Regions from separate parts of the Homo sapiens genome. Here region 1 is linked to region 2. The links are contacts of gene promoters, found by promoter capture Hi-C in human tissues and cell types (Jung and others, 2019). All regions are on one chromosome and are shown on one strand. The core of a region is centred on a gene start or on the middle of the fragment in contact, and the rest is flanking DNA. Distances in the headings are between cores, read along the strand shown. Region 1 holds the start of RAB17 (RAB17, member RAS oncogene family). Region 2 holds the start of HES6 (hes family bHLH transcription factor 6).

Region 1 (2,700 bases), core at 1-2,500, 650 kb after region 2:
TCGAGCCACCGCGCTGGCCTCTTTTTGCATTCTTGCTATAAAATTGGTATTTGTATCTTCCTCCCATTCTGCGCTCCCCCAACCCTGCAGGAAGGTGGATTCTTCAAGGGAACTGGAGAGAAGAGAAGCACATTCATGTATTTCCACATTCAGCCTCCATCTCACGAGTTACACCATTCCCAGCACGTCACCACCCCCAGACCTTTGGTTACCAGCCTGGGGGCAGAGGATAAGGACGTCATTCAAAAATAGAGAGATTCTCAAGCCTCCAGAGTGCGGGGGCCCAGCCGAGCATGCTGGCGGCTTCCAGGGAGGTGGCCACGCCCCAGGGGAAGTGGTTGCATGGAGGAAGAATCTCAGAGGAGGCTTGGACGTGGTAGAGCAACGCTAGTCCTGTGTTAGGACTGGCTAGTCCGTCCTGCAGGGATGAGGGGCAGAGCCTCAGCAGAAGTCCAGGCCAGTGTCCCCCCTCCAGCATAAGAGCCCCCCACTCCCACAGGGCGGAGGAACCACTGTGGTGGCGGAGCTTATTTCCCAGCAGCCCCGCGGGATGAGACCCAAACGAGAAGTTAGGGTGAGTTTGGAGGACATAAAGTGAGCTGGCTTCCCGTATACTGGCTGTGTGGAGTAATGTTCACGGCAACAGATTTCCATCTCCTCAGCCTCAGGCCCAACCCTGCTACCCCAGCCATACTCAGAGGCTCTGGAAATCTTACCTGGAGGAGACTCTTCTGTTACCACCAAGCCAGGAAGTTTCATGGCTTGGGAAGACCAAGAGGAAGTCCACCTCCCCCTCTCCTGCACCTGGAGTCTCCCATGTGCACGGAGGCCACGCCCCCACCCCGCCCTCAGGTGGCATCAGCCCAGGATCTGACCCTGGACTGGCTCACACTCAGTTGCCTCTGGCCAGTGCAGGGCTCAGCCAGGGATGGCTTCTAGCTGACAGTGGGAGGAATTAATTCATCTGACCGGAATATTCTTTTCTCTTCTGGGCTGTTGGTTTTTCAAGTGCAACAAAGATTCCATACAGCTCCAAGGAAGGAGCCAAGAAAAACATTCTGTGCCAAAGTGAGATCCTGGAAGTGAAACCCCGGAATAAAGCTGAAAAACGGGCTCCAGTTGGGTGCCAGGAAATGCAGGACTGGAATGTGACTTGACTTCCGGCAGCGCGCAGGTGCTCCCGGGTCACCTGCTTTGAGGTCCAGCCTCCTGCCCTGCCTCAGGTGACCACATGACCACTGTGGACTTTGCCCTGAAACCTTCTGGGAGGAGAAGAGGCCTGACCTTGGCGCTGGGGTCCAGTGGGCATTGCTCTGGTCCGAGGCTGCTGCTCTTGACCTCTGCTCTGCGGCTGTTTTCCATTGGAGTAGAGGCTCCTCCTGTCCTGTCCTGCCTGTGGAGGGAAGCAAACCTTCCCCTGGACCAGAGAGAGGAGAAAGCGGAGACAGGTAGCAACGCTGTGGACTGGTGATGACAGGCTCTTCAGCTCCCTGCAAGTGACCGGGCCTGGGGAACAGGTGAGTCATTGTTTAAACCTCTGTGCCCTTTGTGGAGTGTCTGCCTGTGTGTGTGTGTGTCTCTGCTTCTCTGTGTGTGAGTCTCTGTGTGTCTGTGTGTGTGCTCACGTGTTTGTACCCATGTCTGTATTTGTTTGTGTCTGTGCATGTGCCCATGTGTGTATAATCAAAGGACAAAGCTGGGGCGGAGACTTCCTAGTTCAGATTTCTGATGGCTCACTAAGTCGGATTCCCAGAAGGAGATTCTTATTTGCATTTTTCTTCGGGAAAGTTCCGGTTTTAAGGTCTTGAAAAAAAAAAACACAAAAAACTTCTGGTAATGAGAAGAACTCTTAAAGAAATCCATTTCAAATGACATCAACATTCCCAATTTAATACCCAGTGATATCTAGGAAGCTTGTCAGGTTTTCTTGTAAACTCCTTTTTACAATCTACATTGTGTTTTCTGTATCAGATGGCTGTATTCTGAATGCAATGTACAGGTGTACCTCTCGTAATCTCAATATTCTTCACAGGCCCCAGGCAAGGGTGACACAGGATCACAGTTGCCGATAGACTCATCAATCAGACCCTTCCCTGGAATGGCCCCTTCCCCGCAAAAAAGACTAATGTGGGATTTGCTCTCCGTTTTTTTTCCCTTTAGTGGAAGGGAGGTGCAAGAGATTAAAAAGCCCCAAGTTAAGATTACTAGAGAAGCGCCAGTCTTGAATATGGTGTTCCTGAAAACATCTTTGTCTTCAACAACCTAATAACATCTTTCACTACTAATAACCCCATCTTGATTAAATTCTGGAGGTGGGGGTCAGGTGCCACACTTTTAATTTTCTCTTTGGACAGAAGGCTCCAACCTCTCATTATTGAAAGCTTACAACACTCAATCACACAAAAAGTTATATAAGAAAATGTTTACTGCAGTCTTATTACAGAGAAAAAATTAAAACTAAGTAAAAATCCAGTATTAGGAAAATGGTTCAGCAAGTTGAGATAGTTGTAGAAATGTTATATGTCCATTAAACATGATTTTGAAGCAATGTGTGAGACTGCCTTTGGTATTAAGTATTTCTTACCCATCGGATAATAATTTTATGTTAAAACTATGGGTTTTGGTTTGTTTTTAGGAGTCATAGAAAAAAACTAGAAGTAGGCAAAAATACCATTTGTGGTTGTATTACGGGGGTGGAGT
Region 2 (2,700 bases), core at 163-2,662:
CCCTCACCTTCCCTACCTACCAGCGCTTCTGTGAGGCCAGGCTCTGCTGGGGGTGCGGGGAGGTGGACAGGGGGTCCTAGGTCAGACTGTGCCCTTGTCCAGGGACGCTTATAGCCTGGAGGGGCTCAGAACAGACCCTGACGATCCCAGCCCGGGTGAGTAGTGGGGACTGAGGAAGGCAGGTGCTGTGCGGGGCAGGCTGGTAGTCGGCCGGCTGGGGTCCGAGAAGGCGTCTCCCGTTCCGGCTCCTCCACACAGCGTCTGGACTGACGCCGGGGCAGGAGCCGGGCAGGGGTCCCCAGGACGCTGCCCGAGGGCGCGGCCCCACCGCCCACGCACCCCGCCCGCGGCCAAGAGGAACCCAGCAGATGGGCGGCCCGCCGCGATGGGGGAGTCGCGGGCGTCTGGCCGGGACAAGCGCCCGCCGCCTGCCCGCCGGACAAAGGGTGCGAGACAAAGGCGCGGCCAACACCTGTCGCTCTTGGCGCGGCCGCCGCTTTTCTCGCTTTTCTCCGCCGAAGCGGCCGCAGCTGCCAACTGTCACGGGCATCAAGTTACAGGACCAGACGGCAGCTTCGGCGGGCCTGGGAGGCGGGGCGCGGAGGACGAGGAGGGGAGGAGGGAGGCGGGCGGGGGGCAGTGGAAGGGAGGGAGGGGGCCCCGGGGGCCAAAGGGGACTAGAGGGAGATGGGGGAGCTCAGAGGGGGGCGGGGCTGGTGACCCGCAGAGCCCAGGGGGAGAGCGGCGCGGGCGGGAGCACCCGGGACCCCGCCCCACTAGGACTCCAGTGCTGGCGGAGGGCGGCGTCGGGGGTCCGGCCCGGCGTCTGGACGAGTCCGGAAGAAACTCAGGGGCCGCCCCGCCACCGCTGCCCAATGGACCCTGCCTCCCCGGGGCTTGGCAGCCACCCCAGCCGGGACCTGAAACCCCTCTAGGTCCAGAGACCGCGGACTTGACTGTGGCTCTGCACACCAGGGACGCATCTCCTGGGGCCAGTGGCCCCAGCGCTCAACTCTGGAGGCGCCATCGGCGAAGGAGGGAAATGAATGAATTAATGGGTGAATGAATGAGTGGACGGACGGACGGACGGACGGGTGGACGCCTGCTCGCACGCGCGGCAGATCAGTGGTCCTAGAGCAGCAGACGGAGAGAAACAAGCGCGGGCAGGGCCGCAGCTACCCGGGGTCGCCGCCCCGGTGCCGCCCCCGCGGGGGTCTAGGGAAGGCCGGGCTGGGGGCCCCGCCTAGCTCAGCCAGCTGCCCGACCGCCAGAGCCGCTGGGCCGGACAAAGCGCGCTGCCCCGATTGGCTGCAGCGCGCCTCGCGGTCGGCCGCCCCGGGCCCGCGCGGCCAATCGGCGCATTGAGATGCAAATAAGCGGCTATAAAAGGGGCGGGACCGCGGCGGGCCGGAAGCCGCGAGGAGCGCGGACGGCTGGGCTGCTGCTGGGCGGCCGCGGGGCAGCGGAGGGCGCCGGCACTCCGGTCCCCGCCGCTCCCCGTCCCCGCTGCTCCTAGCCCCTGCCGCGTCCCCGGCGGAGCGGGCATGGCGCCACCCGCGGCGCCTGGCCGGGACCGTGTGGGCCGTGAGGATGAGGACGGCTGGGAGACGCGAGGGGACCGCAAGGTGCGGGCCGGGGCCATGGGCGAGCAAGCGGGCGGGAGGCCGTGCGGGGCTGGGATTCAGTGCCCCGCTCCCCGCAGGCCCGGAAGCCCCTGGTGGAGAAGAAGCGGCGCGCGCGGATCAACGAGAGCCTGCAGGAGCTGCGGCTGCTGCTGGCGGGCGCCGAGGTGCGGCGGCCGGGCAGGCGCCGTGGGGCTGCGGGGCGGGCGGGCGGGTCCGGGAGCGCGCTGCCGGCTCACCGCCCTTCCCGCCCGCGCAGGTGCAGGCCAAGCTGGAGAACGCCGAAGTGCTGGAGCTGACGGTGCGGCGGGTCCAGGGTGTGCTGCGGGGCCGGGCGCGCGGTGAGTGGCGGCGGGGCGGGCGGGGGCGCCGGCCGCGGGCGCCTGTAACCCCTGCCAGACGGAGGACTTCCCTCCCGGCGCCCCTGTCCTGTCGGCGGCGAGGGCTCCCACCGGAGCAGGGTGCGCCCCCGCGTCTCCTGGGTGAGCCGCGTCCCCGCGGGCCGGGTGGGCTGGGCCACGCAGTCGCCGCTCACCGCGCGGGACGCGGCTCTCTCCCTCCCACCCTCGGGCCCAGAGCGCGAGCAGCTGCAGGCGGAAGCGAGCGAGCGCTTCGCTGCCGGCTACATCCAGTGCATGCACGAGGTGCACACGTTCGTGTCCACGTGCCAGGCCATCGACGCTACCGTCGCTGCCGAGCTCCTGAACCATCTGCTCGAGTCCATGCCGCTGCGTGAGGGCAGCAGCTTCCAGGATCTGCTGGGGGACGCCCTGGCGGGGCCACCTAGAGCCCCTGGACGGAGTGGCTGGCCTGCGGGGGGCGCTCCGGGATCCCCAATACCCAGCCCCCCGGGTCCTGGGGACGACCTGTGCTCCGACCTGGAGGAGGCCCCTGAGGCTGAACTGAGTCAGGCTCCTGCTGAGGGGCCCGACTTGGTGCCCGCAGCCCTGGGCAGCCTGACCACAGCCCAAATTGCCCGGAGTGTCTGGAGGCCTTGGTGACCAATGCCAGCCAGAGTCCTGCGGGGGTGGGCCCGGCCCTCCCTGGATCTCCTCCCTCCTCCCAGGGGTTCAGATGT

Evidence for each region. The method cuts DNA at HindIII sites, captures the fragments that hold promoters and counts their contacts. A contact is called where the count stands out against the background at its distance.
Region 1: the fragment with the promoter of RAB17 here is called in contact with the fragment with the promoter of HES6 in region 2 in 1 of the 25 tissues and cell types used here (aorta).

What each region holds. Positions count from the first base shown.
Region 1 is chr2:237,589,284-237,591,983 of GRCh38, reverse strand. RAB17 (RAB17, member RAS oncogene family) reads left to right here and starts at 1,250. Exons shown (of 6, transcript NM_022449.4): 1 at 1,250-1,517. It overlaps RAB17-DT (RAB17 divergent transcript), which reads right to left and starts at 824. Exons shown (of 3, transcript NR_187201.1): 1 at 717-824; 2 at 1-112. The HindIII fragment of the contact is 5,809 bases long and covers 1-2,147 here.
Region 2 is chr2:238,238,750-238,241,449 of GRCh38, reverse strand. It overlaps HES6 (hes family bHLH transcription factor 6), which reads left to right and starts at 1,412. Exons shown (of 4, transcript NM_018645.6): 1 at 1,412-1,625; 2 at 1,703-1,789; 3 at 1,882-1,963; 4 at 2,199-2,700. The coding sequence starts at 1,545. The coding sequence ends at 2,623. RefSeq lists enhancers at 1-6, 7-512, 2,413-2,700 and a silencer at 1,170-1,689. The HindIII fragment of the contact is 10,490 bases long and covers 1-2,700 here.